4 separate regions of the Homo sapiens genome follow, and regions 2, 3 and 4 are each linked to region 1. The links are contacts of gene promoters, found by promoter capture Hi-C in blood cells and fetal thymus (Javierre and others, 2016). All regions are on one chromosome and are shown on one strand. Each heading gives the region's core, a stretch centred on a gene start or on the middle of the fragment in contact. The rest is flanking DNA. Distances are from core to core; before and after follow the strand shown. Region 1 holds the start of AATBC (apoptosis associated transcript in bladder cancer). Region 2 overlaps TRAPPC10 (trafficking protein particle complex subunit 10). Region 3 holds the start of LOC105372826 (a long non-coding RNA gene). Region 4 overlaps AGPAT3 (1-acylglycerol-3-phosphate O-acyltransferase 3).

Region 1 (6,036 bases), core at 1-2,500:
GGCCAGAGGTCGGGAGGGGACAGAGGGAGCCACATAGGAGCCTCTACCAGCCCCTTTCTTACCACGGGGTGGGGGCGCTTCCCTCCCACAGGGTCTCAGGCTTGTGGGCTCCCCCCAGCTGCCCAGGCCCCAGAGGGCACTTCTGACCCTTCTCTTTGGGGTCTGCCCTGGGGGGCTCCAGGCCACTTGCTCCACCCCATCCCTCTTCTGGAGCCTCCCAGCACCTCAGTTCCGACTGTGGGGAAAACAGAACCCTAGGAAGCAACCTCACGGCTGTGGGCAGGGGAGGGCGGCCGGGAGCCCCAGCTGCCCCACAGGGACATTGAGTGAAGGCAGAGCCTGGGAGGGAAGTCAGATCCGTGCATGGGTCCCTTCCTGTTGGTGTTGGCGTCCCTGAGTGAGCAGCCATCCGCCGCCCCCTGGAAAGAGACCTGGAGAAGCAGCTTCAAGCTTTGGAGCCCAGCCCAGCTGCTAGCAGCCCCTGGGTCACAGTGCGAAGGGGGAAGGCAGGGGCTTGAGGAAGAAAGTGAGAGGATTGTGCCTGGGGGCCCCTGGAGGGCCAGTCTGGAGGCGCGTTGGGGTGAGGCGGTGCTGGCTGTGCCCGTCTGAGATGGGCAGAGGGAAGGCGCCCAGGGCTGAGCCCAGGGTCCCCAGGCCAGTCCCTCACTGCTCTGGGGTTCAGTTTCCTCACCTGCACAAAGGGCGGGTCCCGTGCTCTCCGGAGGCCACACGGGGTCTCCCTGAGGCACTGAGTCTGGCTTGTTTCTGGAAACTGAGGCACAGGAGGACGTTGATAACCGGCCTTCCTCTGTTCTCTTTCCCAGGGGTGCAGCTCGTCCGTCCCATGGTTTCAGATTTGCCCGGTGTGTTGCAACCACCACCTGGCACTCAGCTTGCCCGGTGCCGCCTGGCCCCGCAGCCTTTCCCAGGCCTTGCAAGGGTGGCACAGATGGGGAAACTCCATCTGCAGGGGCGTCACCCCCGAGGGATGTGTCCTCCACACTCCCTTGATGGTCACGTGGGTCCCGGGAGGGCGCGTGTGACTCTTCCCAGGATTGCAGCGTTGGGGCGTTGTGCCAGCCTGGCCCCGTGGGTGCGGAGTGCCGTGGACCCCTCGGCCCTCCTGACCTTGTTTCCCTTTGATGTAGAAGTCTGCATGGCATGAATTCCAGTGACAATGGGCCGGGCCAGGCTCCCTGTGCCCCTGGTACCGCTGCCCAGGGCCGGTCTCTGCAGTCACCCTCCTTCCTTCCTGGTGGCTCCTCCCTCCCTCCTTTGTTCTTCTTTCTTTTCCTGCCTAAATGTTTATCGAGTCCCTCCTGCATTAAGTACCCGTGCTGTGCAACAAATTACCTTGAACTTGGTGACTTCACCACCACTGCATGTCAGCGCCCAGCCGTAGACGAGGGTTTGGGAGGCATGGCTGGGCCTGCCCAGGGCTCCCTGGCTGAAGTGGGTGCTGAAGCTGCCAGGCACTGGAGGCTGGGCCTCTCGCACACTCCCTGGCTGTTGGGAGGGTGCATTCTTCTTTCTTCCTTGTCTTCTAGAGGATGCACTCTTGGCTGTAGGCCTCCCGTTTCTCTCACGGGCTATTCCTGGGGTTCCCTCAGATCCTGGAGGTGCCCACAGCCCCCTTCCCCGAGGCTCCCCCCCCCACACACTTTGCTTCTTCAGTGCCAGCAGGAGAAATTCTCCCTCATCAGCTTCCTCAGAGAAGGGCTCACCTGGTCAGGTCAGGCCCCGCACTCGGGCAGGCACAGCAGGGCGCACCCCATGACGCACCCAGAACCCGCCCCCACAGCCCCGGAGTCCTGGCCGCTGTCCCCAGCCCTACGCCCCTCTCAGAGCTTGAGCCAGGGGCAGCGCAATGGGCAGCTCCTTCCCTCTCCTGTCCCTGGAAAACTGCTCTGGGTGATTTGGCGGAGAGTGAGAGGATTCGAAAACGCTGGTACGTGGCAGGGGCTGGCAGATTCCAAAAGTGGCCCCAGACTCCCTGGACACCCAGACCATCCACCTGGTGCCACAGTACCTGATTCCCATGGCCAGGGCATTGGGGAGCCAGGCAGGGGCAGGGGAGGGGCGTTCCAGGTCCTCCCTCCTTGCCTTGACCTACATCCCAGGTGACCCAGCGAGGCCCAGGCCCCCGCCCAGTCTGCCCCGCCTCACAGTCAGGCTTCATCCTCATCCCCAGCAGCCCCTGGGCCCCCCATGTCACCCTCAGGGCACTTGAGGGCAGGGTCAGGCCAGACCAAGTGTGGGGCCTGGCCAGGAGCAGGTGGTGCCGGGGAATGAGTATAGGGCTTATGGTGCCGTGGCCTGTCTGCTGCCTGGTCTGTCCTAAGGCCAGTGGCCCTGTCCCTAGGCTGTGGGGCACAGGTCCCATTCCCCGGGGGAGTGAAGGGCTCAGGCAGCAGGCAGCCCCGTCCCCTCCCCTAGGGTGTGCCTGGGTGACTCCTGGGCTGGCCGACTGGGAGCTAGCCTGAGTGTAGGTTTTGAGTCTGAGCACCAGGTCCTCACCCTGCCCCTGGCACCCCTTGGGCACCTCCTGGCACCCTGTCTGCTTTGTGCCACTTGCCCTGGGGTCTGTCCCTCCCTTGGACAGACAACAGTGTCCTACTTTTTTTTTTTTTTTTTGAGAGAGAGAGTCTCGCTCTGTCGCCCAGGCTGGAGTGCAATGGCATGATCTCGGCTCACTGCAACCTCCACCTCCTGGGTTCAAGCGATTCTCCTGCCTCAGCCTCCTGAGTAGCTGGGATTACAGGCACACGCCACCATGCCCAGCTAATTTTTATATTTTTAGTAGAGACGGTTTCACCACGTTGGCCAGGCTGGTCTCCAACTCCTGACCTCATGATCTGCCCGCCTTGGCCTCCCAAAGTGCTGGGACTACAGGCGTGAGCCACTGCGCCCGACCCATAATGTCCTACTCTTGCCTGAAGGCTCTGAGCCGTTCGGGTCTCCTGGACACGGAGAAGCCACAGCCCAGTGCCACCTGTCCTTTTCTCTCCGCTGCTCACAGGGGCCGAGGTCTGCACACCCATGGCTGCCCCAGGCTGCCCGCCAGGAGCTGCCTTTTCCCTGGCCAGGCTGTTTCTCAGCCCTGCGGTTCCCAAGGAAACGGGCTTCCAGGCAAGCCCGGGTGGAGTTCACTTTTCTCCCAATTGGAATTCGGCTGAATTGAATCCAGCCTCTGCTCCCCTCACCTCCGCATCCTGAATTTCTGCTCCCAGCTCCCTCGGCCTGGGTCAGGTTGGGTGGGTGGTGACACCGTATTCTGGCCCTTGGGGTTTAGGTCAGAGGTGCTGGGGCCTGTGTGGGGTGATCATGGCACTCTGCGGAGAGGGAGGGAGCCAGGCCAGGAGGTCGGCTTGGCTGGAGACAGCCTGGTCCCACTGGGAGCCCTGGAGCACCTGGAGTTGGGCTGGCTGGGGCAGGAAGGTTGTCTTTTGGGCACCCCTCCAACCCGTCAATCAGCCGTGGGCTGCCCTTCCATTGAGATGTGGGGAAAACCTTGATGAGGTTTGTTCAAGGTGAATGTTCGTGAGGTGTGAGCCACTGCGCCTGGCACATGATGTCCTACTCCTGCCTCTCGCCTCAGGCAAGGGTCCGCAACAGCCGGGCTCAGCCTCTGTTTTGGAGGGAGGAAGGAAGGAAGCAGGAAGACTACCTGAAGCCCCCAGTAAGTGCAGTGGAGAAGATAGAGCAAGGTGAAGGGTTGGCCGTGTGGAGGGCGAGTGTGCGGTCAGGGGAGGGCTTCTTTGGGCAAATATTTGACAGAGGCAAAGCCGGGAGCCAAGTGGATATTTGGGGCAGAGTGGGGTTGGCGGCAGGAGTAGCCAGTGCCAAGGCCCTGCAGGGGTGCACGGGTGTGTAGACCGGTGAGAGGGCGTGGCAGCAGGGGAAAGGGGGGTGGGCGGGGGGGAGGGGGGGCGACCGGTGAGAGGGCGTGGCTGCAGGGGAAAGGTGGGTGGGCGGGGCGGGAGGCGACCGGTGAGAGGGCGTGGCTGCAGGGGAAAGGTGGGTGGGCGGGGCGGGAGGCGGCCGGTGAGGGGGCGTGGCTGCAGGGGAAAGGGGGGTGGGCGGGGCAGGGGGGCGGCGGGGAGAACAAGTGGCCCCATCCTTTGAGGCCGCTGTGTGAGTCTGCTCTGGTGGCCGTGACAAAGGACCACAGGCTGGGGCTTCAGCAACCCACATAGATTCTCCCACAGTCCCGGAGGCTGGGGCCCGAGGCCAGGGTGCAGTGGGGCTGGCTCCTGAGGCCTCTCTCCTGGGCTGGCACCTGGCGCCTCCTCCCCGTGTCCTCACAGGGCCGTTTTCCTGTGTGTCTGTGTCCTCATTGCCTCTTATAAAAACACAGGTAGGTTGGGTGGGGTCCACCCAAATAGCCTTATTTTAACTTAAAAAACTTTTCATGTTCTGGCTTCTCAATTATTTTTTTTTAATTAAGGTATTTGTGACACTTAAAGATCATATATTTAAGATACAATTTGCTGATTTACAATCTAATTTTAATCTAATCTCCTCTCTTAAGACCCTACCTCCAAATACAGTCACAGCTGGGATCCTGGGGGAGTTAAGACTCCCACGTTCGGATTTTTGAGGGACACAGTTTGGCCCGTGACAGTCCCTTGCTGTCTGAGGGACACAGTTCGGCCCGTGACAGTCTCTGCTGTCTGAGGGACACCGACCCCCTGTGCGTTTCCTGTCTCCAGCTGCCTGTGTCGGTCACACATGTTATTCTCACGCGCTGGCCCTGGTCACCTGGTCCCCTCCGCACCCTGGGCACATGCCGGCCTTGGTCACCAGGTCCCTTCCGCACCCTGGGCCGTGCCGCACTTGGGTGGCATTTTGGGTGGAGCAGCCCCGGCCCCTGCCTCCCTCTCCTGCTGAGGGTTAACGGGGCCTGATCTCTGGGTGAGCTGCTGTGCCCTGTGCACTTCCGCCTCCAGGACCCTCAGCCACCACCAGGGCACAGCCCAGCTCAGCCAGGTGGTGAACGGACACAGGAGCTACTGGGGAGATTTGGCCCCAGGTCAGGTCCTGGCCTTGGGCGTGTGGCCCTTGTGGGGCCAGAAAACCTGTCCCTACCGCCCAGCAGGTGCTAGGGGATGACATAGCCCCTCCTGGACATAGGCCCTCCTGCCACTCTCCCCCTGACCAGGAAGTCACCCCCAACTGCCCCTCTGACACTTTCCCTGTGAGAGGCAACCAGGCACCCCACAAAGCCTGCTGTGGGTTCTCCCAGACCCAGGCTGGAGGGACTGACCCATCAGCCACCTCCCCTCCACCCCTCCCCAACCCCCCTGGCCCCAGACAGCCTCTGTCCACGAGGGGTGTGCCCCCGGAGCTGGCCACAGCCCCAGCAGGGACGGCAGCTCTGTGGGGCTGGTGGGGGGTGCCTCTGCAGGGCACAGGTGGACAAGAGGCCTCTCCTGCATGGCCTGCAGGAGGCCCAGCCTAGGAGGAGGGCTGAGGGCACCAAACGAGGCAAAGCCTGGGGGACCATGGTTGGGGTGGCCAAGGAAAGAAGGGGGGCAGCAGAGAGCGCCATCTGCTGCAGGCTGAGCTCAGGACGGAGGTCTGGGCACACTTGGCTTGGGGCAGGTGGCCGCCTTGTGTGGGTCGAGGAGGTGCAACCTGACCTGTGACCCAGTCCCTGGTTCTGAGGTCACAGCGAGGCCACTGGAGACCTCAACTGGCCGGGCCGTTCGCCGTGCAGGGTGGCTGCAGAGACCCGCTCAGCAGGTGCCCACTGTCACCCGGCCGGAACCAGCAGGCAGGCGTGGCAGGACAGACCACAGGGAGGATGCTGGAGGGGCCAGGGAAGCACATTTAGCACACTTGGGGCTGCCTGTGGTCTGACGCCCCAGAGGGTGACACCTTTCGAGGCTCGAAGGCAGCTCAGGGCAGCTCCTCCCACACAAAGGCCTCCTCTGGGCTGTGAGGGTCAGTGTTTCTCCTGGGGCCCAGCCCTGGGGCCTCTTTGCATGCCCTCTGGGTGCCGGCTCAGGAGGGCACTGGCCCCAGGCCTGGCTC
Region 2 (6,057 bases), core at 2,246-4,745, 260 kb after region 1:
GAATTTTTATCAAATGATTTTTCTTCACCTAATGAAGCAAATGAGGAAAAGAAACATTTTCCACCTCGAAATGACCCTCTGGGCTGCCTGTAATCACCTGGATTTAGAGACTCTGCCTGGGTTGCTCAGCCCTAACTGCAGGTTGGGGACGGGGCTGTGAGGGAACCATTCACTCCTAGAGCCGGGCTCTCTGTTCATGTGTACCTAGGGATTTCACCTGATGTTGAGATTTTTGTCTTACTAGCCGGGAGGGGGGAAAATTGAAGTATTCAAGTCCAAATGATTCAGACATGATGTCTTCTGAGTGAGACGACCCCAGGAGGCTGATTGGAGAGGGCTGTTAGTTTTGTTATTACCTTGTGGCTGGAAGGAGAAATGTGTAAGTAATAGAGGGTGTGGGCTCTGGAGTTCCCTTGTAGCGTCGGGGTTCACAGGAGCCATACGGGGTCTGTTGGCTCCTCTAGGTGCTCGTCTGCAGGGCCGGGAAGTCACAGGTATTTTCAAGGCTTTGTATCGTGTGAGGAGCCTCTTATCCGTGGTGTATTTTCCGAGCCCTTTGCTTTGCTGAATGAAGTTGTTGTCCCCTTGGCCTTTCCTTGAGTGGAAGCTGCCCCATTGCTTTTAGTCATAGCTATTGCACCTCTTTGCACGGTTGAGTTCTGCATCTCCAGTGAGAGGAGGTGGCCAAAGGTGAATGCTGGATTTGAGGCAAGGACGTGTCACCCACTGATGACTTTCTCACAGTCTGTCAGTCTCTTTCCTTCTAAGAACCCGCTTCCTGTTTCGTCATCTTCTGATGCACACAGCTGGCTGCGCCTCCTTACATGCGCTGTGCCTGTCGGCTTCCCAGGCCAGAGAGGACAGCCTCCCTTGTCGCTTGTGTTGAAGCCCACACAATCCTCTTTGCACACTTTGCACCTGTGTTTGATCAACACTGAGATTCACACTGTTTACTTAGAGGGCTTCGCTGGTAACTTCACGTCAGAAGTGTTTCTCTTTCTCTCCTTTTTTCTAAATTTTTAAATTTTTTGGTAGAGATGAGTGTCTCACTGTGTCGCCCAGGCTGGTCTGGAACTTCCGGGCTCAAGTGATCTTCCCTGCTCCCCTCCCAAAGTGCTGGGATTACAGGTCTGAGCTGCCCGTGGCTGTGTTTTTCTCTCTTGTGCAGTAGTTTTTACTCCAGTCTAGTTGTTAGGATTTTTTGGTGAGAGTCAGGTTTTAGGGCTACAGTTGAGCAGAGGCCAGGGGGTAGGTGTGCCACTGTCAGTTGCAGATCCCACTGTCCCACTTTCGAGTGGGTGGCTTATAAAACATGTCCTGCTAACATCCTGGTTGCTTTACCAGTTGATTTGAAGTACCTCATTTATTTAAAGAGAATAGGAGGCAACGAAGTGGCCAGCTGTGATGGAAACTAGCCCTGCTCTGTAGTAGGGCTTGATCCACACTCCAGGGGCGACGGGGGCTGAGGAGGGGAGCAAGACGGCCGGATAGAGGCCTCTGCCCTGTGGGTGCTGCTTACTAGCCTTGCGCACTCCCTTAATGGAAAATGTGTTAAGAATGGAGATTGTGCCTACCTTGCACAGCTGGCTGCTGGGGTGAGCGGTAACACCCGTGAAGTGAGGCCAGTTCTGCGTGAGTTCAGGATCCTCCTTGACAGAGTATTTCCTTTTTTTTTCTGTAACAATTTCTAATTTTCCCTCCATTTACAAAAGTTGAATGTTTTCTTTATGTAAATTTGGAAAATAACAGACAAATATACGAAGAAAATGTCGTTGCTTTTGCTAGCAGGAAGAGGTTCCCTTTTTTTGTCCATGGCCTTCTTATGTATAGATGAACTGCAGTTATTTCCTTGCTCCTATTTGGACATTTGAATTCTTCAAAATTCTTTGCAATTGCAGCAGTTTGTATCCTTATACATACATCTTTGTGTGTAAATTCATACAAGTAGAATTGGAAGGTCGAAGATAGACATGTTTTTAAAGCTATATGTTGTTAATTTGTCCTCCAGAAAGGTCTTCCCATTTTCAGTCATGCTAGTGATGCCTGTTTTCCTGCACCTTTGGTAAGAAAAAAGTATGATACTTATATATTTTGTCGCCAAATTAGAAGAACGGGGAAGATACTTTCTTGAAGGCCATAATGTGTTTGTTACAATGATTGCCCAAGTGATTTTTTGGGGGGGTTTGGAATGTGTTTCATTCAGCGTTTGACCTTTTATCACCTTAGCTGCTGGTTATGTAACAGACCGTGTGGGCCTAGCAGGGTCAGGACTCCTCCAGACCCCAGGGGAGTCACCAGCCTAGCCTGTGGCACGGAGGAACCGTGCATGGGACGCCGTCGGAGTTAGCTGGCCGGTTTGTGAACAGAGGCTGTGTGTGGCCAACCTGCAGGTTGAACCAGAGGAAGAAGAAGGTTTACAGTCAAAGCTGGCCAGCTGGGATCGGTATTCTGAGGTGCAGGCCTGGCAGAGGACAAAGGCAGAGATGTAGTGTGGGAATGTAGATTGTGTTTGCTGAGGGCTTACAGTGTACCCGACACCCTGCTGGGTGGGTGCTCTCATGTGTAGGTGGAGGATCTTGTGCACCCATGAGCCATGAGGGGGAGGAGCTGGATTGAAGGAGGAGGGGTGGTTGTGAGAGCTGTTGCTGAAGAAGAACTGATGGCTCACTGGACAAAAGGAAAGAGAGGACTGTCAAGAATCATTCAAGAAACGTTTCCTTGCCTGCCAGGCACTGTGGGAGACAGGGATGGGGGTGCACATAAATGAAGAGGAAAGGGCCCCACCTACCGGCATGAGGTGCCACGGGTCATCAGCACAGTGTCCAAGTAGTGACGAAGTGTTGTCTGCACACAGGGGACTGTAAGGGAGGGAAAGGCAGCTTTGCCGGATGCCTCAGGTCAGCTTGGTAAACATTTGCAGGTGCCTGATAGGTGCTAGGGAAGCTTTCTAGAGGAGGCCCTATGTGAACTCCATTAAAAAGATTCATTCAGGCTGGGCACAGTGGCTCAAGCCTGTAATCCTGGCACTTTGGGAGGTCGAGGTGGGCGGATCATGAGGTCAGGAGTTCCAGACCAGCCTGGCCAATATGGTGAAACCCTGTCTCTACTAAAAATACAAAAATTAGCTGGGCGTGATGGCAGGCGCCTGTAATCCCAGCTACTCGGGAGGCTGGGGCGGGAGAATTGCTTGAACCTGGGAGGCAGAGGTTGCAGTGAGCCGAGATCATGCCACTGCACTCCAACTGGGCAAAAGAGTGAGACTCCGTCTCAAAAAAAAAAAAAAAAGGACTCATTCACTTATCAGATCTTCATTGAGCTTCTGTTTTGTGCCAACCATTGTGGTAGGCACTGTATTTTCAGCAGAGAGTGAAATAGAATTCCTGGCCTTATGAAGCTTACGTGCTAAGGAATGAGTAGGGGGAGTAAGAACTCACCAGGTAGATGTGACTGCTGGTGGCGCGGGAGAGTGCGTTTCAGGTGGAGAAGATGGTGTTATTGAAGGTGCTCTGGAGGAGCCTGGTCTTGCTAGAACTTCAGGGGTGAGGCAGGCTTTGGGGGCAATGAAGGGAAATTCTGAAGTTCTTTGTGTGTCACGTTGAAGCTTGCCCTTTGTTCTGTAGCCAGTAGGGAGCCATGAAAGGTTAGGACCTAGTGAGGCAGAGGGCAGAGAGAGGCAGAGAGAGGTGAAGAGTTTGGAAACTTCTGCCATAGTCCAAGGGAAAAGACGGAGTTCCAAAAGGCAGTTGAGGTAGATTTTATTTTTTATTATTATTATTTGAAACACTCTGTTGCCCAGGCTGGAGTACAGTGGTGTGATCTTGGCTCATTGTAGCCTCCGCCTCCAGGGTTCAGGCAATTCTCCTGCCTCAGCCAGTCAAGTAGCCAGGATTACAGGTGCGCACCACCATGCCCGGCTAATTTTTGTATTTTTTGGCAGAGATGGGGTTTCACTATGTTGCCCAGGCTGGTCTTGAACTCCTGAGCGCAAGTGATCTACCCTCCTCAGCCTCCCGAAGTGCCAGGATTACAGGCGTGAGCTATTGCACCCAGCCGGCAGATTTTAAATAAATAGGTTCAAGAAAAATTTAGTGAATTGATGGTTCTGGGTCCACTGGATATCCATATATAAAAACAAATCTTGATCTCACCCCATAAACAAAATTAATTCCAGGTGGAGTTTTGATCTAAACATGAAAAATAAAATAAGAAAACTCTTGAAGATAACTTGGGAAAATGTCTTTGGGACCTTAAGGTTGGCAAATATTCCTTAAATAGGACATGAAACCTTTATGGTTATGCACCAGCCGTGAAGGAAGAGGGTCCTGCATTAGACTACGTAAACATCAGTGCTTCTCTTCACTGAAAGGTACTCTGAAGGGAGTGAAAAGGCCCTCCGCAGCTTGGAAGAGTACAACCAGTATATATAGACAAGAAAGGGCCCTTACTCCAGGGCGTACTGTGAAGAACTCACATACATCAATGCAGAAAGACTGACAAACCAGTAGAAAAACAGGCAAGAGAGGAAATCCAAATGGCCGATAAACATGAAAAGGGGCTCAGTCTCATGAATCATAGCAAAATGCAAACTGAAGCCATTATTAATGAAGTACCAGCACACACCACCAGAATGGCCAGGATGGAAAGGCTTTCCTCGGGTATCAGTGGGAGGGTGGAGATGCTGGCGCTCATTCACTGATGGTAGTGTGCATCACTGGGACCACTTTGGAAGGCTGTTTGCGATATCTAATGGGTATCGCCATTACAACACATGCCCCGTGACCCAGCACATCCACCCCTGGTGTGTACAGATACATGCACACACACATGCATCAGAAGGCAAGTACACAGAGATACCTGTGGCACCCGTGAGTCATTGGAGCTGCAAACGGGGAAGAACTCAAATGTTCATCTTGTCCAAGGGATGACAACGTTGCACCGTGGCCCTGTAGTGTGCTAGGGTACAGTGATGAACGTGAATGGGTCGTAGTGGATGACTCTAACCAACCTGAAGTTGAGCTAAAGAAGTTAGACACAAGAGAAGGCATACTTTTTTTTTTTTTCTGAGATGGAGTCTTGCTCTGTTTCCCAGGCTGGAGTGCAGTGGCGTGATCTTGGCTCACTGCAACCTCTGCCTCCCGGGTTGAAGCGATAAGAGAGGGCATACTTTTTGATTCCTTGTGTCTGAAGTTCACGGTGAAGCTACACCAGTCTGCTGTGAGCTCTCTGGCAGGTGGAGGGGCTGGTGACTGGCAGGGAGTTCCAGCGGGAGCTGCCTTCACGGGAGGCATAGCAGGCGTTCACCTAGGACTCATGTACCTTCCAGTGTGTGGGTTGCACTCAAGTGGTAGGGGTATCAAAAGAGAGAAGAACAAGAATGCCTTTAATTTTATACTTGGAAGTGGCAAGATGGCACTTGCCATTGCTAATACAGCAATCAGGAGAGGAGGAGGGACTTTAAGGAAAATTAATATAAATTAAGAATTTGTTTAAGAAGTCTGTTATTCACAAAAGATGATATCCAGATGGCCAAGAGGTATCTGATGGCCCATTAGGGAAATGTGAGTTTTCTGGAGACGGTGAGGCCACCACCCGGTTCCAGAGTGAGGTGACCAAGCTGCACGCTCTGCCATTCAGTCTCAGGCTCTCAGGGCAGAGCGGAGGCTTGGTCTTTGTTGTGTTGGGTGCTGTGGCATGCTGGGTGGCAGATGCCACCATAGAGGCATGGCCTTCGTGCTGTTGGCTGAGGTGCCCATTTTCTGTGTCGGCCACCATTTAGGAGCAAGGGGCTGACATTTGTTTGGACGACTCAAAGCCATGAAGCCATGGCTGCAGAACAATTGCTCTTTTCCAGAGTTTGTGAGACTCTTGTTTTTTATTCTCAAGCTGCACTCTAATGGGTAAAATAAGCCAGGGTGGCTCTGGCACTCTCTGTCCCCTTCCCCCGAGCTCTTGCGTCTCTGCTGCAGGGATGCTGGTGGGAGAAGAGTGCTGGCACTGCCTGTGTTCTGCTGTGAGTAGCCTGGCGCACTTGGGCCTGGGGGCGTCTTCGGACCCTGA
Region 3 (5,827 bases), core at 2,862-5,361, 130 kb after region 1:
GGAGTGATCTCAGCTCACTGCAAGCTCCGTCTCCCAGGTTCACACCATTCTCCTGCCTCAGCCTCCCGAGTAGCTGGGACTACAGGTGCCGGCCACCACGCCCGGCTAATTTTTTGTATTTTTAATAGAGACGGGGTTTCACCGTGTTAGCCAGGATGATCTCGATCTCCTGACCTCGTGATCCACCTGCCTCGGCCTCCCAAAGTGCTGGGATTACAGGCGTGAGCCACTGCGCCCACCCGGGACATCATTTTCTACTTGTAAACCAGAAACCTCCTTCCTCCCTCCTGCCGTCCCATAGGATTTTATCGATCACCTACTGTATACCAGGCACTGGCTAAGCCCTGCACGCACAGTGGTGAGCAGGCAGTCCTCACCCTCCTGGGGCTCGATTTCCCAGAACCCTCAAGAGAAAGCCAGTCCTCAGGGGTCAGCAAGTTCCACATTCAGCTTCAGCTTTCGGCCATTCCTGCCGCCAGGCCACGCTGAGAGTCTGCCGGGGCACCTCGGTTCCCTGCGCCTGGCCTGCCAGGCCTCAGCCGCCACGGCCTGTGTCACGGAGGAAGGGGGCTGCAGCTGCACCCCCGGGAGGGGAGGTTGGAGTCGGGGTGGGGCGGGCCGCGTGCTGTTGGTGTAGGGTGGGCGATGGCAGTAGTGGCAGCTTATTACCACATCAGGAGAGGCCGGAGCGTTTTCAGCAAGGTCAGAAGCCTGCGCTGTGTTTAAAATCAGGGCGAGAGGGAGACAGGGAGGGAACGTTCCGCCGCCTAAACCACTTTCCCGCCGCATCTTTCACCTGGAGTGGAGGGGCAAGTGCCTGGGCCCAGTGGTGGCAGCTTCGGGAGGGTTCCATGAGGCTGCCTCGGGAAGCAAGGGTCCCGGCAGAGCTGGGTGTTCTCCTGGGCCCCCTCAGGACAGCAGCATCCACTTCAGGCGCCGCCTCTCTAAGGAGCCACACCTCCCTCTCGGGCCAAGTATGGAAACGAGCCACAGCACCACGTGTGCTAGGGCCCCAGCATTTCACCCACGTGGCAGAATCTGTGCCCCAAATGTCACAGCCCCTCCCCACCTCGGAAATGCAGGCTGAGTGGAGGCCCCGGCCCTCGCCACTCTGGAGCGATGGCTATTTCAGGCTCCAGGAGGCCGCTGAGTGGTTCCCGGGCTGGCCCTGCATTGCGGCTGGGCAGGGGCCACACGTCCCTCCCCCGTGGGCCCTGGGTGCCTGGAATCTGGAGCAGAGAGAGAGAGGGAAGGTAACAGCGTGGCCTGTACATCCCTGCCTGCAGGCGCTGGCCTTGCTGTCCCTGGGTGCTGCCTGTGTACTCCAGGGCACTCTCTTTCCTGGAGAGGAGGCCGCGGGAGTCATCGCGGGGCAGATCCTGGAGGCCAGCAAGGCCGCCCCTCCTCCTAAGTGGCACTGATTGACAGGGGAGAAAGACAGAGGCTTGTTCCCCAGAAAAGCACAGAAAACCAGCCTTGTTCCTCAGACAGGAGATGCATGTGCCGGGAGGCAGGCAGGGGGACGGCTGTGCTCGGCCTCTGTGCAGTGGGATTATTAGGGACAAATTCCAGAACAAAACTTGGGTTTCATCTAAGCTTTTTGGGGATTTGGGGAAAGCAGAAGAAAAGAGGGAGCCCAGGAGGAGGTCAATACACCGTGCCAGGAAATGAGGAAAAGCTCAGATGTGCAGTGTCAGCGCTTTTCCATGAATCACCTCTTACCTCTAGAACAGCAAGTGCGGGAGGTGTCCAGGTGCGGGGGGGCCACGTGCCCTCAGGGGCTTCCCTCCCCAGCCCGCCTGGAGACATCATCACTGACTCAGCTCCGGCAGGCAAGGGTCCCTCGGGGTCTACCACTGGGATTGACGCCAGCAAGTCGGACCCTTTCTCAGAAGCCCAGAGGGAGGGCAGAGCCGTAGCCACAGTTTGGAGGCATCTGCTGGGCTAGTGCATGTTTTAACAGCACCTATGACAAGGTGAGGCAGCATGGGTGGCCCTGCAGGTGGCGGTTTGCATATGTGCACATCCAGCCAGCTCCGTTTTCCAGTCTGGGGACTATGGTGACAGGAAGTAAAAAGCCTGCGATTTGGCCTACGGGGTCCCAGGGTCATCCCGGGGTCGCACCTTGGCTACCAGGCTTGAGGGTTCTGTGTGCGATTTCAGGAGAGACACACAGCCCATCGCACACCTGACAGTTGTCACCCTAAAGAAAATTCGGCTGAACTGTGCACATTGGGGAGCATTTTCATTCACATTACACATTTCATTTCACTTCACGTTTTATTGGTTTGAGTAATGGTTTAGAAACTATCTTTTACTTCAAAATGTTTGTGCATCTGAGATTTTCTGACTTTATATCTGGACAGGGCGCCGTAATGGTAGACGATGGCCGAGGTTCAGGGAACCCTGTTTCTGTGGTTCAGGACAGGTCCAGCCTTTCTGAGCCCTGTCCCCGCAGAGAGCCCCCTTTCCAGGCACCCGTGTCTTGGGTCGCCGCTGGCCCTGTGAGGTGACACTCTGCAGCTCTTGCACTGTCCAGGCCAAGGGTGGCTGTTCTGAAACCTACTCGGTTTATTCCATCTTGAATCAATGCATTTTTTCAAGTCCGTGCCTCAGGGTGCCTGTAGAATGACAGATGTGGCATTTCAATCGGTAAATAATGAGTACACCTTTAAGGTCCAGGCACTCTTTGTTTAGAACATTGTGGAATGCCTACATCATCTCATGCTTGCACAGGAGCGTGGCTTTGTCAGAACTCATCCCCAGGCAGCCCTGTGGGCACCTGGTGGGGGCTGGACAGGGGTCACGAGGAGAAGCCAGCAGGAGGGTGGTGGGCCCTCCACCTTGTCCCCGCAGGACTCCCCTCTCTGCCCAGACACACTCAGCCTCCACCAGGACTCAGGGGTTCCAGCCAAGCTCCTCTTACCAACGATGCCCCGTGACTGCCCCAGGGACGGGAGGGCTCAATGCCATTCCCCTGCAGGCCCTGTCTCTCCCCAGCTTCCAGTTGGTTGTCCTGCAGCCTCAGGTCTCTGATGGGATGAAGCAAAGTCGAGAACTTACGGTTTGTCTGGCTTTATTCTTGTGAGAGTGGGAGTGACAAGCTCTGTACATCCCCAGCAGAAACCAGAATTCCACCTCCTACATAACTTTGTAAATTGCAAAATATAATGAAAAGTGCATGAGGCCAGGCACAGTGGCTCACGCCTATAATCCCAGCACTTTGGGAAGCCGAGGTGGGTGGGTCACCTGAGGTCAAGAGTTCGAGATCAGCCTGGCCAACATGGCAAAATCCCTTCTCTACTAAAAATACAAAAATCAGCCAGGCGTGGTAGCCCGCACCTGTAATCCCAGCTACTTGGGAGGCTGAGGCAGGAGAATCACTTGAATCCAGGAGGCAGAGTTTGCAGTGAGCTGAGGTCATGCCACTGCATTCCAGCCTAGGGGACAAAACAAGACTCCTTCTTAAAAAAAAAAAAAAAAGTGCATGAGACATTGATGACCAGTTTAATGAATAAGTATGCAGCAAATATCCATCTGTTTCTATAGAGTAAAAGTAGTTATTATAACGCGTAGTTCGTTGTAAGAAAATTATGTCTAGGTCAACTTAGCTGTGACTGTTTTATGTGTGCATGCATGTATGTGTGTGTGTGTACATGGGCGTGTGTGTGTTTTGGAGTGTGGTCCCCACAAATCTGCCACCCTTGGAGAATGCTCTTCTGCCCTGGTGCATGGCTGTGCCCTAGCATGGGAAGCGCCTGCTGTGTCCTGCAGGCCCGCAGACTTGTCACAGGTCCATTGTGCAGTCATCAGGCCCTGGGAGCTTTCCACATCCCTCCACCTCCCACCCAACATCACCACTCTCCGGCCAGTGAGACCATCACAGCACCCCAGAGGAGACAAATTCTGGAGCTCAGAGAGCTGGGGTAGGTGACGGGAGGGTGGGGGGCTGGAGGTCCTTGGCCAGCAGCCTTCCCATCCTGGGCCACCAGCACCCTCATCCTCCCCTCGTCCTGCCCAGCTCCACCTCCTCCCTGCCCTCTTCCTGCCAGGGTTTGCAGTTTACACTGGCAGTGATGCAGTGGCAGACACAACTTGGGGAAATAACTCTAGGACCCTGGTCTTTAGTTCCGATTCCCGGTGAGACAGTACCTGGCGGGGAGCTTCTCGCCCTCTTCAGAAGTGGCCTGGGGGCCCTGGGGCTACTGATCCAGCCCAAAGCTGCAGTCAGGAGAGCGTGCAGCCGTGTGGGTCTCATAAGAGAGGCCGACCAGGGCTGCCCAAGCGGAGCTTCTGTTTGGCCTCTACCTGCTGGAGTGACGCCCCCGGCATCTCCAGCGAGGCCTGGAAACGTCGCAGTCTCCTCTTCACTGAGTCCAAAGTCACTTCCATCTCGGGCCCGTCCAGTGTCTGTCGGGGCCTTGATTCTGAGATGAGATTGTTTGCTGAAGTGCTCCATGGACTCTTTCAGGAGTGACGTTGTTCTTTCAGGAACTGTAAACGGAGGTGGCATGTAACCAGTGTGGACTAAGAAGCCATGCTGCTGTTTCTTTTCTTTTCTTTTTTTTTTTTTTGAGACAGAGTTTCAAAAAAAACTGCCTCCCGGGTTCAAGTGATTCTCCTGCCTCAGCCTCCTGAGTGGCTGGGATTATAGGCGCCTGCCACCACACCCGGCTAATTTTTTGTATTTTTAGTAGAGACGGGGTTTCACCATGTTGGTGAGACCATCACCATGATGGTCTCAAGCTCCTGACCTCAAGTGATCTGCCCACCTTGGCCTCCCAAAGTGCTGGGATTACAGGCATGAGCCACCGTGCCCAGCCTATGCTGGCTGTTTCTCACAAATGTATATTGAATACGAGCCATTCGCTTAGAAAACATTGATCAAGCATCTGTATTCTATGCCAGGCCCACGTGAGTAAGAGTAATAGCTGTTGATGATGTAAGCTGTGTTTTTGGCCAAAGGTAACAGAGATAGTGATTTAAACACCGTTACCTCTTGTCTTCCCCGCCTCTTGAAGAGGGCAGCTGCTGGTGTGACCTCAGCTGCTCCCCAGACCCTAAGGGGATCTGGGACCTTCCACCTTCTACCAACGGTGTTGGTCTTCTGTCCTCACGCCTATGGTTTCACGCTCCCACAGTGGCTCCTGCACCTTCAGACACTGCCTCCTCACCGAGGGAGGGAAGAACGACAAAGGTGATGACCAGAGGTATTTGTTTCTTGTCTTAGGAAAGCAAAAGCCTCCCTTAAAGCCCCCGCAGACTTCTCCCTGGCTGGACCCAGGGCACATGCCCATCCCATCCCTGGATCACTTGCTCAAAGAGGGGATGGGATTACCTTTATGGCTTAGATCTGGGGCTGGGCTTCCCTCCCATATCCAAGGGTGAGCGCTGCCATAATAGCAGGAGGTTCTGTTACCAGCAAAGGGGGTAGTGGCAGGTAGGTAACTCACAGTGACTTGCATGTTGCAAAAGGCGGGGTTCTGTTATCCGGAATTGGAGGAGTGGTTTTAGGTATGTCATATAATTATGCCTTTAAATCCATTGGTTGAGAAAACAGGCAATGCTAAAAGATTCTCATGAACCTAGCAGCGGTTTTAATTTTGTATTTTATTTATTTTATCAGTATCTAAATACAATAGAAATATAAATACAATAGAAATGGAATGGATCATGTGAGATGTGTGTTGTTGACGAACGTGTAGTCAGTGCTTCATGCACATGGGATCCAAGTCCCCAAACAGTGGCTGCAGATCCACACCCTGCTCCAGGTGCTGAGGTGCCCCAGACAGCTGCTCCTAGTCAGTGAAGCATTGACTCTTTAGTC
Region 4 (5,306 bases), core at 2,320-4,819, 170 kb after region 1:
GCATGTTTCCAGGGGAGCAGTTTAAGCCTGCCCGGAGGCCGTGGACCCTCCTGAACTTCCTGTCCTGGGCCACCATTCTCCTGTCTCCCCTCTTCAGTTTTGTCTTGGGCGTCTTTGCCAGCGGATCACCTCTCCTGATCCTGACTTTCTTGGGGTTTGTGGGAGCAGGTAATGGACACTGTCGCTAACAGCTCACACTCTGACGGGCCTCACAGTATCAGCCACAGGGTCCGGGACCTGGTGACTCATCACAGTGGCTGTGGGAGGCAGGGGCCTGGCTGTTATGGACCCTGGAGCCAGGATCCCCCCACGGCCTGCGGGCCTCAGAGCCTGGATTCTTGCACTGAGCTGAGGGTCGCCTCCCCAGAGAGCCGAACGGCCGCCACCTGGCGCCATCCCCACTGCAGCCCCACTGGCTGGCGCCCTTGAGGATGCCGACGAGAGGGTCCCCGAGAGGGTCCCCAGCCCCCCTGTCTGCTTTTGGGCTCTTAGGGGTCAGGCTGGGCTGGCCATTCGGGAGGTTTAAGCAGGACATCATCATTCAGCTCCTCCCCATTGACCCCCAGTGACTTCCCCACTGTGTGCCCACCCCAGGCACAATGCCAGGCCCACCACGACTCATCAGCTAGCCTGGGGCCGAACAGACACCCAGCCTGTCCCTGTGGTGAGCTCCGGCGCCCACCCACACCCCGTAATTGAGGGGTCTCTGTCCGTGGAGACACAGTCCGTGTGCATCGCCCCGTGAGCCGACTCCCCAGGCCCAGCAGCTGGGCCAGCTCCTCCCCTGCTCCTGCCGCCCCTGCCAGGGGCCTTGGTGGGAGGGGTCCTGAGAGGCAGTGACTGCCACCAGCCTCTCCCATTGGACTACGAGATGACTTGAGGCCACCCACAGAGGACAGGATGTGACCTGCTTACATCCGAGGGTCCTGCTCGTCCACCTCTGTCACCTGTTGGGTTTGCAAGGCCGAGCTGTTAGAATGCCCCGAAGCCCTTCTGCTCCCACCAGCCAAAGACCCAGAGGGGCAGGCAGGGCAAGGTCCACGTGTCCACCTGCCTCGGACCCAGCCGGTCAGAAGACGTGCCCCTCACCCCTGCCTGAGCAGACCACGGTCTGAGAGGGCTGTCTCCCCGCGGGCCACACCTACTCACTGACAGCAGAGGCCACTGGGTGCGGGGCAGAGGGACAGGGTCTGGGGCAGAGGAAGGAAGCCCCAGTAACACGTTTTACAGCAAAAAGGCAAAGTCATCCGTCTCACCTCTTCTCTCTCTCTCCTGTCTTGAAAGCTTCCTTTGGAGTTCGCAGACTGATAGGAGTAACTGAGATAGAAAAAGGCTCCAGCTACGGAAACCAAGAGTTTAAGAAAAAGGAATAATTAATGGCTGTGACTGAACACACGCGGCCCTGACGGTGGTATCCAGTTAACTCAAAACCAACACACAGAGTGCAGGAAAAGACAATTAGAAACTATTTTTCTTATTAACTGGTGACTAATATTAACAAAACTTGAGCCAAGAGTAAAGAATTCAGAAGGCCTGTCAGGTGAAGTCTTCAGCCTCCCACAGCGCAGGGTCCCAGCATCTCCACGCGCGCCCGTGGGAGGTGGGTCCGGCCGGAGAGGCCTCCCGCGGACGCCGTCTCTCCAGAACTCCGCTTCCAAGAGGGAGCCTTTGGCTGCTTTCTCTCCTTAAACTTAGATCAAATTTTTTGGTTTTTAATCAGTTATCTTGGGAACTTAACCTGGCCCCTCACCTCTTCTGCACCCCCCGCCCCCGAAACTGTCTCGTAATGAATTTCTGCTGTCCTCCTGGGAGTGGACGGCCGGGTCCCGTCCCCCGGGAGCATCGCTCGGCTCAGCACCTTGGCTCCCAGTGGGGGCCCCGTGGAGGGCGCCCGTAGTGATAAGCACACCGGCACGAACGTCAGGTCCATTCCTCGAAGTCGGAGCCCTCACTCTGCCCTGTCCTGGGGCTGGCTGAGGGCGAACGCCCCACCTCACTTTCTAGAGCCCTGTCTGTCCTAGCTCCTATCTGACCTTGTGTGTAAATACGTACATCTGTTTTTAAAGTGGATGGGCCCCTGAGAACTCAGTGAAATGCAGAGTTCTCCATGCACCTAAAGCTCCTTTGTCGCTCTCATGGCTGTCAGATCCTGGTCCCTCCACACTGGGTGCTGGGGAGGGAGGACCCTCGGGGCTACCGCGCGCCCCCCCATCCCACAGATCAGGAGCCAAGGAGGGAGAACAGGGCAGCCTGTGGGACTCTAGGATGCTTCAGAAGAAGCGACGGCACCGTCAACCCTCTGTTTTTTAAAGGTGGTTGGAGACTGTTAACACTGAGCTCATTGACTTCTAGAGATTTTATTTTTACTGGTTGATCTCTTGGTGGTTTTCAACTTCCTGCTGGAAACTAGAGGTGGGGCACCCCCCACCCCCCAGCCTCGCACTGTGTCCTTGGGGAAGGCCCGCCCCCATCCTGGCCGGTGTCACTGTGGCCCGGCCACCCCTGAGCGCCCAGCTCCCTACCTCCTGGACGTCTCTGAGAGTCCAGGCAGAGCAGAGGGCAGCGCTCGGCCGGTCATGCTGGCTCCCTTGGCCTTGCAGCGAGCCCCTGGCCCACGCCGAGCGAGGGATGCTTCTCCCTACAGCATGTCCACTCCCCCGGCATGGCCAGGTGGGGCCCCTGGGGCAATGGCAGTGGTAGAACGCTCAACTTGGTTGCGGTACCATCAGCCCACCTGCATTTGGCTTTCGACTTGCTTGTTCTAAGTCACAGCGCCCTCATCTTTTTAGCAAGGTAAAAAAACCAAAATGGGTGTTATCTCTGATATCTTGAAACCAGCGTTCTGAATAGAGGTAGGTTGAGTTTTCTAGGGGAAAACAAATGGAGAAAAGAGGCATGAAGAAAAGTAAACCGAGAACATAATTAGGCATCGGGCCTAAGTGTCCTGGGGAGATTGGAGGGGACGGCAGCGTTCTGCATGATGGAGGCGCTGCCGGGCCCCGGGTCTGTGGGGGCCGTGCTCTCAGGGCGTGTGCGGGACGCCACCTGTGCACACCTGCTCAGAGCACGGCTCCTCGCAGGGGTGAAGGGGCAGACCAACGAAACCAGATGAGACCAACGACACCATGCGAGACACGCTTGCAGACACTGTTGTTTTGGAAATGTGCTTCCCTCCATCTGAAATCTCATCCCTCCACCCGCCCACTCGGGCAGCTGTGCCGTGGGCAGGGCATGCGCTCCCCTGGCTGAGCACCCCAGAGATTCTCCTGCACCTTCCTCATGCCGCACGCTGCTCATCCGTCTCCATGTGTGTTTAGATCCATGCCATTCACTGACTCACTAACACCTGCAAAATCTTTAAGGAAAAAAGCTGAAGGGTACGACCATGCACATATGTGACCTGGAAAATGCAAATTTAGATCTTTTATGATTTAATTATTATTGTTTCCCATAGAAGTTCCCTCCCTTTGAAATTAATATATAATGTATAAATTCTGCACTGAGCCATGGCGGAGCTGGGCAGCCCCTAGGTTAGAGTGGAGACGGAGGCCCAGGCGCAGGGGTCACACCTCATCTGGTTTCCTTCCCATCTCACAGCTTAGCTTGTGCTTCTCAACACCAAGTCTTTAAGAGCAATAAAAACTACACCATGAATGTTTGAATTTTTTTTTTTTGGGGGGGGGAGGGTGGATTTTGCTTTTCATCCAGAAGGAAAAGGGGAGGAGAGCTCCTTTACATTTTTTAAATTAAATTCATAAATCCCAGAACAGTCTTTTTTTTTTCTTTTTCCTTTACACCCTACTTCTGAGCTTAATTCAGTTGATGTTATGTCCAAATTCAGGCTGAGTGCTCAGGCTGAAGCAACTCTGTAGCCCACAGTCCGTGCTGGCCACTGTCGGGGTGAGGCACATTCTAGGCCTGGCATCGCTGATGCCCTCTGCACCCAGTCCTTGAGCCAGGCCGAGGACAGGAAGGGCATTGCTGGCCTGTAGCTCCTGTTACCCACCCAGAGCCAGGCGCCACACTGGAGGCTCCCAGGCGGGAGGGCCCAGGCCCACCCACGGGCGTCTGGCCGGTCAAGCTCCCAGCCTGGGCCGTGGTCTCCTGGGGACGCCGCTGGCCTCCCAGCTTAGGCCCAGGTGCCAGGTGTCATGGGGTCTCCTGCCCATCTTCCCAAGGATGCCATTGCTGTCTTCATCGTCTTCCCCCGTGTGAGACACTGGTTGTCTGGTACTCGGCGACAGTGTACCAGACGCGCACCCTATGTGAGGTGCTTTAAGGTCCCTGTCCTCAGGAAGCGCAGTCTGGTGGAAGAGATGAGCGCTGAACAAATCACTAAATAACACAAAACAACAATGTAAGCAGCACTTTCTTGTGTAAAAAAAAAAAAAAAGCACGTCCTGTCGATGAATTTTGAGTCTCTCTGCCTTGCCTGTCCCGACTCCCTTTCGCGCACCGTGGCATGAGAATCTTTCCTCACGCTGTTCGTTGCGGTATTGCTGAGCATTGATGTTGATTTGAAGGAAAAGCCGTGGTTGGACCCAGCTGTGTGTTTCACTCACGTGCAATTGAGTAGCTGTTGCCAGGCTGTCCATGCCTGTTGTGACTACCGGTTGGGGTCAGATTTGGGGTGAAGAATGAGTAAGTTTCTGCATGCTTTGTCTCTACCTGAGACACTTCTACAACAAGCCAAGTATAATCTCTCCAGCCCTGCAGATTTTCACCTGACTTGTTCAGCCCCATGCGTAGACTCCCGCTGCAGGCCTCTGGCCTGTGGCTCACTGCATGCAGCCCCTGGCGTGCAATACTAGTGCTCCACGGCGCGATGTGCTTCTAGCCCTTGCACTGCACCTAGGCTCAGGGTTCAAACGGCCAGCCCGAAAAGCCTGCCTGCCTTCTTTCTGGAAACAGCACGTCCCCGGCCGTGTGCCTGCCCCTTTCTCTACTGAGCTAGTCCCCAAACCAAAGGCAAGCCCCCTCGGGCCTCGGGGGATGGGGCCGGCCACACCCCTGACTCCGCCCTGGCTCTGCCCCATACCCCTGCCGTGGGGCCGACCTGGGGGATGCAGACATCCGGCTCCGTATTCCTGCCTATCGGGGCCAGGATGCAAAAACAATTTTTGCGTAAAAGATGTCACACTGATCTGCTGGAGTGGGGTGGACACATGAATTCAGTTTTATCATGAACACTCGCCACTGGCTGCTTGTTAATTCAGGGATAATGGTGGCATTCTTACAAACTGCTCGGGAAATAGAATGACGGGAACACTTTTAGGGAGCCCAGGAAGTTACCAGGGACATTGGTG

What was found. The method cuts DNA at HindIII sites, captures the fragments that hold promoters and counts their contacts. A CHiCAGO score of 5 or more calls a contact.
Region 2: a fragment that was not itself captured here is called in contact with the fragment with the promoter of AATBC in region 1 in 1 of 17 cell types (endothelial precursors); the score reaches 6.3 in endothelial precursors.
Region 3: a fragment that was not itself captured here is called in contact with the fragment with the promoter of AATBC in region 1 in 5 of 17 cell types (endothelial precursors, erythroblasts, megakaryocytes and 2 more); the score reaches 9.1 in endothelial precursors.
Region 4: a fragment that was not itself captured here is called in contact with the fragment with the promoter of AATBC in region 1 in 10 of 17 cell types (endothelial precursors, erythroblasts, megakaryocytes and 7 more); the score reaches 15.1 in endothelial precursors.

The regions. Positions count from the first base shown.
Region 1 is chr21:43,811,317-43,817,352 of GRCh38, forward strand. It overlaps AATBC (apoptosis associated transcript in bladder cancer), which reads right to left and starts at 1,251. Exons shown (of 2, transcript NR_026961.1): 1 at 1-1,251. It overlaps LOC124905033 (a long non-coding RNA gene), which reads left to right and starts at 1,356. Exons shown (of 2, transcript XR_007067897.1): 1 at 1,356-3,679. The HindIII fragment of the contact is 6,406 bases long and covers 449-6,036 here.
Region 2 is chr21:44,064,850-44,070,906 of GRCh38, forward strand. All of the region lies in intron 7 of TRAPPC10 (trafficking protein particle complex subunit 10), which reads left to right. Among named protein-coding and RNA genes, the nearest start is that of PWP2, 40 kb to the right of the region's middle. RefSeq lists enhancers at 802-851, 2,406-2,948. The HindIII fragment of the contact is 207 bases long and covers 3,393-3,599 here.
Region 3 is chr21:43,943,133-43,948,959 of GRCh38, forward strand. All of the region lies in intron 2 of AGPAT3 (1-acylglycerol-3-phosphate O-acyltransferase 3), which reads left to right. It overlaps LOC105372826 (a long non-coding RNA gene), which reads right to left and starts at 3,382. Exons shown (of 3, transcript XR_001755079.2): 1 at 3,343-3,382; 2 at 2,927-3,032; 3 at 2,271-2,621. RefSeq lists an enhancer at 702-1,545. The HindIII fragment of the contact is 5,034 bases long and covers 1,595-5,827 here.
Region 4 is chr21:43,981,020-43,986,325 of GRCh38, forward strand. AGPAT3 (1-acylglycerol-3-phosphate O-acyltransferase 3) reads left to right here. Exons shown (of 10, transcript NM_020132.5): 9 at 1-168; 10 at 1,285-5,306. The coding sequence ends at 1,373. Among named protein-coding and RNA genes, the nearest start is that of TRAPPC10, 29 kb to the right of the region's middle. RefSeq lists enhancers at 187-948, 949-1,710, 1,711-2,472, 4,925-5,306 and a silencer at 4,105-4,164. The HindIII fragment of the contact is 4,574 bases long and covers 1,283-5,306 here.